Linked DNA regions of Homo sapiens: regions 1 and 2 are each linked to region 3. Evidence: promoter capture Hi-C in human tissues and cell types (Jung and others, 2019). All regions are on one chromosome and are shown on one strand. Each heading gives the region's core, a stretch centred on a gene start or on the middle of the fragment in contact. The rest is flanking DNA. Distances are from core to core; before and after follow the strand shown. Region 1 overlaps WWOX (WW domain containing oxidoreductase). Region 2 overlaps DYNLRB2-AS1 (DYNLRB2 antisense RNA 1). Region 3 holds the start of MAF (MAF bZIP transcription factor).

Region 1 (4,167 bases), core at 730-3,229, 850 kb after region 3:
TCCCTTCCTCCTTCCTTCCTTCCTTTCCTTCTTTCATCACAACATGTCTACGTGTTGGTAAGGAACTGAACCTACGTATTTTTTAACTCTGCAGAAATGGCTTTCTTGGAGTATTGTTTAATATCAAACTCTATTTTTGTATCTACATAAATATAAGGCATGCATGACTGATGGAAGAATGTTTTGTTATTTTTAGTAAACTGTTTTAAAATGCTGTATCACCTTGTCTTTTTATATGAGTTTTGGGTCTTTACATGTATATTTATATACAAACATATGCATATATATATATATATATATATATATAAAATCTGATAAATATATATATAATCTGATAAATATATATATATATAATCTGATAAATTCTTACAGTTATGTTGCAGGACAGAGGTGTGTTACTATACACCTCTGTTTCTTTTTTTTGGTTGAAAACTCTTTGCTTTTGACTCCCAGGAAACCCAGCTAAATTTAATGCTAGATGTCAGAAATAATTCATAAAGTTTCCAGGTATATTTATCTCATATCTTCTTCTAACTAATTTCTGATATGTAGTTCGAAACACAAATTAAATACATCTGTCTTTTATATGTAGTGTACTATTCCCTTTTGAGTCAAATTCTTTTTGGAAGTAGGAATGGTTTCAACTGTTTGAAACAGCACTCTTCTCTTTTCTCTGCAACCTTGTCCCTATGAAAAATAAATTGGAGATTTCTCAAAGGTCTAAAAATAGAATTACCATTTGACCTAGCAATCTTATTAGTGGGTATACATTCAAAGGAAAATAAATCACTCTACTAAAAAGACACCTGCACTCACGTTCTTGGCAGCACTACCCACAACAGCAAAGACATGGAATCATCCTAAGTGCCCATCAATGGTGGATTAGTTAAAGAAAATGTGGTACGTATACACCACGAAATACTACACAGCCATAAAAAAGAAGAAAATCATGTTCTTTGCAGCAACGTGGATACAGCTTGAAGCCATTATCCTGAGCGAATAAATGCAGAAACAGAAAACCAAATACCGCATGTTCTTACTTACAAGTCGAAGCTCAACACTGCGTACACATGGGCATGAAGACAGGAACAATAGACTCTGGGGACTTCAAAAGGGGGGACTAGGGAGGGAAGGAGAAAAGGATTGAAAAACTACCTATTGAGTACTATGTTTACTAATTTGGGTGATGGGTTCAATTGAAGCCCAAATCTCAGTATCTTGCAAGATATCCATGTAACAGACCTACACATGTACCCCCCGAAACTGAAACAAAAAATAAAAAATAAAATAAAATAAATCCCAGTTTACTTACACATGATAAATAAATGAAACAGCACTGTTCTTTCTTTACTTTTTCTAAGCCAACTCACACTTCCTGATCCTAATGGAAATCCTTTCGGGTTCACAACTAGGAGTCCTGGTCCCATTCTTACAGACCACAGGAGGGGCAAGACAGCTATGAAATTTTGTGCCTCTCATTTCTGTCCTGCAGAGAAACTGAGCCTCTGAATAGGAGTTCAGTGGAGATCACCCACCAGCTGACCTGGGCAGTGGGTTTTTCTTCCTGTTTTTGAATAAGGCAGCAGCTGAACTGTACAAACACCTCTACTTTCACCGAGGTGTTGCTCACTATTTTATTTTCATTTCTCTTCTTCCTTGTTTTTAAGGTGTGAAAAAGACTTTCAGCAATGCCTTCCATATGCTGTCTTATTTTATTTCTCCTATTTTTCCCTGATAGAGTCTATCTACTACTGAACGACAAGAAGGGATTGTTGGGGGGAGCTGAGAGTCACTCTGCCAAAAAGCATCTGACTTGTAAACAGTGCAAGACTTTTAAAAGTCTACTCTCTGACCTTCTATTTTGAGGACCCTCAAAGTGAAGAAAGTCAAACTTGGTATTAAATAACCACCCAGGATGTGGTTGTCAGCTTGAGGTGTTAAGAGGAACAGTTTATAAAAAGCCTGGTTAAATATAGGAAGTACAGTTGCATTTCAGGTAACTCGAGATTTGAACATCCAATACGGCTTTAACGGAGGCAATCTATTTGGCCCATTTTCACAGATATATATTAAATGACACCTATTTTGAGGTCTATAATTTTTCCTCCTTAGCTAGACCAGAAAACACTTCCTCCACCCTAATTCATGCTTCCTTATCCTCCAAATGTATATCCTCCACTTTTTTTCCCCACTGAAATAAATACATCCTTAAACTACTTTGCATAGCCCTAGGGTAAAACAACAATTGTAACAACAACAAAACATTAAATGCTTCATTATGATTTAATATTCTATCACCAGAACCCAAAACCTCAGTTTGACTATTTTGGGTCTCTCTCTTTCTCTCTTTTAAACTATTATTAAAATGGTAATTTTAATGCAAAAGGCTGTATTCAATTTTAAAACATTGTTTTGTTTTGAATTTCAGCTGTCTTGAAAGTCCATTTTTTTCCCCTTTCCTCTCTGTAGGGAAGAGGATTGAACTTCTCTCGAGCTCTGTTTCCTCATTTGTAAAATGCAGGATCTACCTATGATGTAGGTGGTTAAACAGTAGTCTGTGTGTGATGCATGGCACACAGGTCACCCCATGGCAGTGCATGTTTTATCTGCGTACCCATGCAGACAGCCCTTGGTCATGGAGGACTATGCCACCATAGCCTCGGTCCACCAACCCCTAAGCACTAAAACACATCCAGACCATGTGATCAGCAATTGATAATTTTAGAATACACTTGGCTAATTTCTCTGATCCCACTGCTACAAATAAACCTTGCAGTCGTTGATTTGGTCAGGTTCAAATTTCACCACGGCCCTACGGGCATAAAGATGAATTATTTGATTGCAAGGAGAAATAAGAGACCATGTGTCAGGCTGCTTTGCAAATCAATTCACCTCCCCTGCAAAGATGCTCCTTCCTACTTAAGATATATGGCTTTACAAGGATTTGGGCAGCATCTGTGTTTGCCGTGTCAGAGGGCAAGACGCATGCAGATGTAATATCACCGAGCAGTGTAATCCGAGTGTGCATGAAAAATAACTGCAGAGGGAATGAGGGAACCCTTTGCCACGGGCCCTGACAGCACCTCAAATAAGCACTTTACCTAATCTCCCTTGTTGATTCCTATCTGGGCCCAGTGACTTCATGCAGCTGCCATCTGCTAACCAGTTAGGGCATGTTGATCACGGACGTATTGTAATCAGAGCTGAGGTCTCCAATGGTAAAGCAGGCTTGCTGCCAAGATGGGGCAAGACCCTAATAAGAATGGCAGAAAGGAGCCGAAAGGTGAACTTTACAGCCAGCATGCCTGGATTAAGCTTCTATTTTATTTAACTCTGTATCCCCAGGGCTTGGCGTGGAAAAATGCCCAGTAAATACTGCAGATAGAAATGAGTGAAAGACTTTCCATAAAAAGTGAAGCACTTCCACCACTGGGTAACAGTAATTATTTGCATAGAGTCTTTTGAGCTATTTTATAGTAGATTAAAATGTTTATTTGTGGTGAGCTATCTGTGGTAGACAAGGTTCATTCATTCATTCATCAGATATGTATTGAGTGGACACTGCCCTAGCTTTGGTGCCTGTTCACCTTTGTAGCTCAGGAATTCGGCAATGACACGGGGTGCAATGGATAAATGCGAGATAGAGGAGTGGAGGGTCCGGTCTGGGAGAGAAAGAGCAGAGTCTGTGAAAAAACTAACAGACAGGGGACACTTCTGCAGATCCCAAGTGCTCTGGCCAAGTTCAATACTCTTCGGCGCAGATGGACTTGGAGTTTCTTAGGCTGCTACGCAAGAGGACCACTAAGAAGCATGGTTATTTCGGCTGCAGGATGCTGAGTCTAAGAAAAACTCAGGCATCCAAGAGCATGCCCCTCCACTGACAGGTGGAAAAACTGAGGCAGAGAGAAAGATTATAGTTTATCCTTGATCATGGAGCAGCTTGGAGACAGAGGTAGGACTAAACTCTGGTATGTTGAGCAATCCATGCTCTGCCAAGCTGCAGCATCTCCTCTGTAGGCTGGATAAGCTCATGGGCTGACGCTCTAGGGAAGAAGAGGCAGACAGTAATCGAGGAAACAATTGTATACATATTCAGAAAGTGGTAAGTGCTCAAAAGAAAAGAAACAGAGTGGGTGAGGAGAGGCAGGGTTTGAATTCGACTCCACC
Region 2 (3,744 bases), core at 890-3,389, 860 kb before region 3:
TAGGAGGATCGCTTCAGCCCAGGAAGTCGAGGCTCCATTGAGCTGTGATTGTGCCACTGCATTCCAGCCTGTGTGATAGAGACTGCATCTCAAAACAAAAACAAAAAACCAAATACCCCCATTTGGCATCAGCTGGTATGGCTTTGAGGCCTGGCCTTCTCATTTCTTTCCTCTGTGTTCTGGTTAAGCGACTTAATTACTCTGACCCCAAGTTGCTCTGTCTATAAAATGGTAATAATAACTATGTACATGTTAGATTTTTGTGATACATAAATGAGATAATATAGGTGAGGCACTAGGAACGATGTCTGGCATACTTAGTAGAAAATTTTATTATGTGACTTAGCTTTGTCAAATGGTCCCTAGAAGAGGGCAACTCAAGGAAGGGATGGAGGAAGGAGAGACAAGAGGTCTAAGTGGCACCCTTGGAATGGATCTCAAGATCCATCAAGATATAGACACGATTTAGAGTAAAGCAATAATACTGAGCTTCTTGAGGGCATCTGGACTGGAACCATGAGGCTGGGGCAGCCAGCCACTCAATCTCATTTTAGATACTGCTGGTGAGCATACAAGTTGACCCTTTAATGAAAATGCTATCTGGGCATGTGTATGTATGAGTGTGTGTGTGCAAGTATTCATATGTGTGTTTTTCTTTCTCCTTCTCACCCCACATTCTCTGTCCTTGGCATTCATAATTACTCATCATCCTCCATTGTACTTCCCTGCCTTTCCCCCATGCTGCTCTCTCTGCCAAATCATCTCTCTTCTCTCCCAGGATCATCTCTCTCTTTCTCCCAATTTGCAAGGCCCAGCTCCAACATGGCCCTGTTCTGAGGTCTTTCCCAAGCTCCCACCGTTCCTTGCTCTCTTCTCTGTGCTACTTTAGCCAGCCCTACACCTCCATCCCTCCAGGAGCAAATGCCTCCTTGAATTTTGTCCCCTAGGTGCTGTTACCTTTCTCCTGGCTCAACTGCAATTAGAGGATTTTAGAATTAAATTACATGGTAGTAGAAATAATATCACTAAGTATAATACATTTTTAATGCAAAACCAAAACCAAAACACCCAAACATGACAGACATTCCACCTCTTTCTTCATCTAATCCACATTCCCACACCCTTTTTTGGAATGGGAAGGGGGCATTTACCATTATCTATTTCCAATCCTTCCTTGCAGACTTTTTGCTATTGCATTTTTGTGTGTGCCTGTGTCTGTTTATCCTTGGATCTGTAGTACTTTTTACACACCATGACGACAACATGATTGCATGATGTTGAGTGTTCTATGTCCATATCATTCTTACCCAATAGGCTACAAGGTATTAAAGGTCACCAACTGTATTTTATTAATCTTTTTATCTCCAGGAACCAACACCGAGGCAGGCACAAAAAGACTGTGTTTCCATAGGTAACTGAGTAGAAAACAAGTGTGGTTGAGTGTGTGCACATGGGTGTGAGGTGGGAAGAAACAGAAAATCACAGAGGAAGGTTTAATTGGAGTGTCATTTCCCCTTGTTGGCTGAAATTCCCAGAAGACATCTTGGATCTCTGCAGAAGCTGCAAGAAAGGGCAAGGTTGGAGTGAGCAGCTGAGCAGAACATTGAGTTAAGTGCAGGCACTGATCCTTGAAAGGCCTGGCTCATCCAGGGAGAGAGGGCGACTCAGAGGGTGCAGGATGTGCATCTGCAAAACCTCCCGGCTGGAGCTGCGCATTAAGATTTGCTTGGTCATTAAGATTCAACGGGAGAAGCAGGGTCTCCCTGCCTGTCAGGTGACTGTTGAGAATAGGCTGTGTCGGTACGGATCTGAACACTATGAAGGACTTAGGAGCTACATCTCAAAACCTAGGGGGGAAAATAGTGCAAAATGGCTTTTGTTATTAGAGGTGTATTTTATTGCCTGAGGTTGGAAGGCTGTTTGCAGGTGGGAAATGTGTTCTCCAGGATCTTCCCCACAGGTGGTGCAGGTCTTCTGTATTTCCAGCCTGTCTCCTTCCCTATTAATCATTCTGATTCTCTCATCCTGTGCAGATGTCATGGGCCTCTGTATCTGAAGACTTTATCGGTGTTTATCTTGTAGCTTTTAATAAATCATTTACTGATGGTGTGTGATCCAGGGTGTTTTACATGAGTGAACGCCACCCTGGCCTCACCTTGCTGCATTCCTGTGACATGTCAGTGTGACTTCTGTTCTGGCTCCCTCCCTGAAACTGGAGCTAGAAAAAGGGAGTGAAATTGCTGTCTCAAAAAGCTTGTTTTGGGACAAGGGTGAACTTCACTTAATCTAATTATCTATAGTCATTATTGTATCAGAGGATGCACATTAAAGCAGAAACGGTTGCTGCAAGAGACTAGCACAGACCACGGAAAAGAAATTTGCTCTTCAGTGAGGGATGCACTTCAATCTGTCTCCTGCTCTCTTGACTCTTTTTGGTTTATGGTATGTTCTAAACCAGGGAGTGGCAAACTATTCTTGGGCCACCAGCCCGCCTCCTGCTCTGTAAATAAAGCTTTATCGGAACACAACCACAGCTATTTGCTCACGTATTATCGATGGTTGCTTTTCCAGGTATAATAGCAGCATTGAGTAGTTGTGACCCTCTGGCCTGCAAAGCGTAAAATAATTATCATCTGCCCTTTTACAGAAAAACTTGTGAGGGCCCCTGTTCTAGATATTTCACAGTTACCATCAGTGGGTGGTGATGCCCTGTCTGTGTCCTAGGGGTCCTCCAATCTGTGCCACAATTCTGAAGAAAAAAGTGTCAGGGACAATAGTACTTATGCCCATGTGAATGTCTACATGCACACATATGTGTATATGTGTTTATAATGTATAGGTGTGTGCCTGGGTGCAGGGGGGAAATCTTGAAGGGTGTACACCAAGCATGTGAACAGCAGTCATCTGGGTGGCAGGATTCTGTGTTGTCTTTCTCACGAGTGTATATTTTTGAGGTTTTCTGCGATCACTGTATATTTTGTATACGGCAGCAGCAACAACAATGACACAATCCTTCCTTCTTTTGTTACCTGATTTTCCCTGTATGGTTGGTGACAGTAAAGTTATGTTCCCATAATGAAATTGAGCAGGGAAAATGTCCTTTGTAGTTGAGAACTTAAGAAGCATTTGGTGACATCTGAGCACATGATCCCTCCTCCCCTGACACAAGGAGAATGAGCAATTATAGCTGTTTTGACATTAAATTTGAAAACAAAATGAATTTACATATGTACATACACGCATCTACATGCATTTGTACGTGTATATAAAATTTCCTTTTTATTTCCCCTTTCCTGTGCAACATTTCTCTAGTTTCTCTTCATTTATTATAATTACTTTTGGTAGCCTACAGATGCCAGTTGTAAGTCAATGGCTTTGGAAAAAATAAGAACATCTTTACAAAATATTTTTTGAAGAGCATGCATTCCTTCATAAGTTAGCAGCTACAGAAAGTAAAGACCACGTTTGCTTGCTCCTGGGAAATTTGCATCTGGGAATTCTTTGGAAACCGGACAAGGTCCCTTAAACTGTCTGTTCCTTGCTGCATGAACACTACATCAGGCACAACGGAAAATGGAAACCTAACTGCCTTTCCATGTTTTCTTTCTTTTTTTCTTAAATGCAAGCTTTGAAGGATCAAAGTCATGAGGACCAGCCAGGATTTGGGCTTGTTCCTGCCTCCCAAGTCAGCATAGCTGGGTGCAGAGATGGGTCAGGTGGTTCTTAAAACAGGTGCCTGAGTGC
Region 3 (3,936 bases), core at 1,053-3,552:
GCCCTTTTCAGATTAGGGTGTGCCTACGAATCTTTTGGGAAGTCTTCCATTAAGGATTCCTGGGTTTGCTGAAACTGAAGTCTACTAGGATCAGAGAAATTAACACAGGTCTAATATGGTGCAAGGAACGAGTGAGAGACACCTGAGGTTATAAATAGCAAAGCATGCTGCGGGGTGGGGAAGACCATTCTGAAGTGCAATGTTCAAGACGCTGGCTTAATATATGACTAAGTGTCAGAAGTCAGGTTTTCTGAGAATTACTTTCCAGATAAACAACTTTATAGCACTGCACTTAATCTTACTTACTAGAGACATCTCATTTATCACTGAATTACAAGTAACTTTAATCCTATTGATATTGCCATAAAGCCCGTTGAAAATCCATCCTGGCACTTTTAAAGGGTTTGGGGCCCTGTTACATGGGGATCCTCTTGCAAAGGTCTCAGCCAGAAATTACACCCCGAGGGTGTCTGTATCCCCTGGCCTCTTTGTCAACAATCAAGGAGAAGAGGAGGGGCAAAAATGATCTCTGCATCTGCCAGCACTTTCTTCGGCCCCTTTCCTATAGGGTCGGGTTCTCCCACTTCAGTCAAACTAACTTTGTGTGTCTCTTTCCTCCTCCCACACTGGGTAACCAGCTGCTTTTCACTTCATCGACAAAACTGGACACGGATCAATTTCAACTGACCTTTGCCGAAAGGTGGCGCTGTTGAGGTAAAAACCAACTCGCTCCAACAATAGTTTCCACTCTTCGATCCTTTTGCAGGCTTTTCAGAATTTTTTTTTTTTTTTAATGCACCCTCCTAGCGTCTCCCCCTTCTCATAAAGTAAAATAAATACGATTAAAAACACCAAATGCATTTCATTAATTGAAGGAATCAACAGTCCCAACTTCTAAGCAGACGGGCTGGTCTTCCAAAGGCTGGGTCGGTTTCAGGAGCTTTCTCTCCAAATAAATCTCTGCTTCTTCGACTTGCCTATCGCTTTAAAATCTTAGAAACAGAGTTAGTTGTTGGTTTCCTTCTTTTTTCTTTTTCTTTTTTATTTCTTTTTTGCATAAACTTTTAGAGAATCAATCTAGAAATTTGAACTACTTATTAGCATTTGCAACTGGGGGTGGGGGGAGCAGCCTCCCCCACCCCACCCCCCACTCTGCGTTTCCGGACTAGTTCCAGAAACCGCGGTTTAAAATTTAACCCTTCGAGGGTAGCTGGTGAGGGCTGGGGTATTGTTTTTCCCCCTTGCTCCCTGCCACGATCAAGTCCGAAATAATTAAAGGAAACGTAAAAGTGCAAAGGGCGCGCCTGACCCTGATAAACAGAGGTCAGATTTCGTAAGGGGACGGGTGAGTGTGAGTGTGTGTGTGTTTGTGTGTGTGTGTGTAAGAGAGAGAGAGAGCGAGCGCGCAATATGAGTCTCAAAGGCCAAACTCCGGCCAGTCAGGAGCCGGAAGGCTGAGCCCGGCTGACCTGACTTTGAGCTTCCCCGGAGTTATCTCGCATAGGCGCTCGCTCTGTCCAAGGGCACGCGACGCCAGCGGGCAGCCGGTCTCCGTGAAGAATGGCCTCTAAACAACTTATTTTACCTCGTTGTAAAGAGAGGGATAAAATGGGCTTTCCCTCTCCACGGATGCCCAGCCTTCTGGGCAGGCGCATGGCCGGGCGGCGCCCAGCCCGCAGCCCCGATCCGGACACCCCACTGCATCCCTCCCTTCCCGGTCCCTTCCCCGCACGGGCGCCCGAGAGACGGACAAAGAGTTGGGGCCAAGTTTGAGCGCCGGGCACGGCCAGGCTCAGGGAAGGAAGGTCCCCGGCAGACACCTGGGTACCAGAGTTGGTGCGAGGAGGAAAAGCTGGGAGGCGAATTCACAATCCTGGGGGTGGAGGGCAGGCAGGGGAGGGGAATCAGGCCAATCCCAGCCGAGTGAGCCCCCAGCGAGCTGGGGCTCCGGATGGGAGGCCTGTCTCGCGCTCCAAAGAAAAGCAAACCGCCCTCCCAGGTCCGCCCGGATTGCCGAAGCCCCTCTGGAAAAACTCCTTCCCCTCTTACACCAAACTTTGCGCCGGGCCTCGTTCCCTCCCGGGTAGGCAGCGGCGCAGGAAGGGTTAAGCCAGCCCGTCCCAGCTGACAGTCAGCTGATTGGGCCCTGATTGACAGCTCCGAAAAGTTTCCTTGTTTCTATACTATTATGCTAATCGCGGCCGCTCTCGCCGCCTCCCATTGGCCCGGAGTGCCAGTCAATTTCTCATTTGGACCTGACGTCACGAGTGCTATAAAACTCAGCAATTGCTTTAAACTCTTCTTGCTGGATCAGAGGCTTTAAAATCTTTTTTCATCTTCTAGCTGTAGCTCGGGCTGCTTGTCGGCTTGGCCTCCCCCTCCCCCCTTTGCTCTCTGCCTCGTCTTTCCCCAGGACTTCGCTATTTTGCTTTTTTAAAAAAAGGCAAGAAAGAACTAAACTCCCCCCTCCCTCTCCTCCAGTCGGGCTGCACCTCTGCCTTGCACTTTGCACAGAGGTAGAGAGCGCGCGAGGGAGAGAGAGGAAAGAAAAAAAATAATAAAGAGAGCCAAGCAGAAGAGGAGGCGAGAAGCATGAAGTGTTAACTCCCCCGTGCCAAGGCCCGCGCCGCCCGGACAGACGCCCGCCGCGCCTCCAGCCCCGAGCGGACGCCGCGCGCGCCCTGCCTGCAGCCCGGGCCGGCGAGGCGAGCCCTTCCTTATGCAAAGCGCGCAGCGGAGCGGCGAGCGGGGGACGCCGCGCACCGGGCCGGGCTCCTCCAGCTTCGCCGCCGCAGCCACCACCGCCGCCACCGCAGCTCGCGGAGGATCTTCCCGAGCCTGAAGCCGCCGGCTCGGCGCGCAAGGAGGCGAGCGAGCAAGGAGGGGCCGGGGCGAGCGAGGGAGCACATTGGCGTGAGCAGGGGGGAGGGAGGGCGGGCGCGGGGGGCGCGGGCAGGGCGGGGGGGTGTGTGTGTGAGCGCGCTCGGAGGTTTCGGGCCAGCCACCGCCGCGCAAGCTAGAAGCGCCCCAGCCCGGCAAGCTGGCTCACCCGCTGGCCACCCAGCACAGCCCGCTGGCCCCTCTCCTGCAGCCCATCTGGCGGAGCGGCGGCGGCGGCGGCGGCGGCGGCAGGAGAATGGCATCAGAACTGGCAATGAGCAACTCCGACCTGCCCACCAGTCCCCTGGCCATGGAATATGTTAATGACTTCGATCTGATGAAGTTTGAAGTGAAAAAGGAACCGGTGGAGACCGACCGCATCATCAGCCAGTGCGGCCGTCTCATCGCCGGGGGCTCGCTGTCCTCCACCCCCATGAGCACGCCGTGCAGCTCGGTGCCCCCTTCCCCCAGCTTCTCGGCGCCCAGCCCGGGCTCGGGCAGCGAGCAGAAGGCGCACCTGGAAGACTACTACTGGATGACCGGCTACCCGCAGCAGCTGAACCCCGAGGCGCTGGGCTTCAGCCCCGAGGACGCGGTCGAGGCGCTCATCAGCAACAGCCACCAGCTCCAGGGCGGCTTCGATGGCTACGCGCGCGGGGCGCAGCAGCTGGCCGCGGCGGCCGGGGCCGGTGCCGGCGCCTCCTTGGGCGGCAGCGGCGAGGAGATGGGCCCCGCCGCCGCCGTGGTGTCCGCCGTGATCGCCGCGGCCGCCGCGCAGAGCGGCGCGGGCCCGCACTACCACCACCACCACCACCACGCCGCCGGCCACCACCACCACCCGACGGCCGGCGCGCCCGGCGCCGCGGGCAGCGCGGCCGCCTCGGCCGGTGGCGCTGGGGGCGCGGGCGGCGGTGGCCCGGCCAGCGCTGGGGGCGGCGGCGGCGGCGGCGGCGGCGGAGGCGGCGGGGGCGCGGCGGGGGCGGGGGGCGCCCTGCACCCGCACCACGCCGCCGGCGGCCTGCACTTCGACGACCGCTTCTCCGACGAGCAGCTGGT

What was found. The method cuts DNA at HindIII sites, captures the fragments that hold promoters and counts their contacts. A contact is called where the count stands out against the background at its distance.
Region 1: a fragment that was not itself captured here is called in contact with the fragment with the promoter of MAF in region 3 in 1 of the 25 tissues and cell types used here (mesenchymal stem cells).
Region 2: a fragment that was not itself captured here is called in contact with the fragment with the promoter of MAF in region 3 in 1 of the 25 tissues and cell types used here (heart left ventricle).

What each region holds. Positions count from the first base shown.
Region 1 is chr16:78,747,602-78,751,768 of GRCh38, reverse strand. All of the region lies in intron 8 of WWOX (WW domain containing oxidoreductase), which reads right to left. Among named protein-coding and RNA genes, the nearest start is that of WWOX-AS2, 250 kb to the right of the region's middle. The HindIII fragment of the contact is 9,408 bases long and covers 1-4,167 here.
Region 2 is chr16:80,461,868-80,465,611 of GRCh38, reverse strand. All of the region lies in intron 2 of DYNLRB2-AS1 (DYNLRB2 antisense RNA 1), which reads left to right. Among named protein-coding and RNA genes, the nearest start is that of DYNLRB2, 77 kb to the left of the region's middle. The HindIII fragment of the contact is 5,772 bases long and covers 1-3,744 here.
Region 3 is chr16:79,599,103-79,603,038 of GRCh38, reverse strand. MAF (MAF bZIP transcription factor) reads left to right here and starts at 2,302. Exons shown (of 2, transcript NM_005360.5): 1 at 2,302-3,936. The coding sequence starts at 3,137. LOC101928230 (a long non-coding RNA gene) reads right to left here and starts at 2,152. Exons shown (of 3, transcript NR_188556.1): 1 at 2,050-2,152; 2 at 689-992. RefSeq lists an enhancer at 2,093-2,387. The HindIII fragment of the contact is 24,643 bases long and covers 1-3,936 here.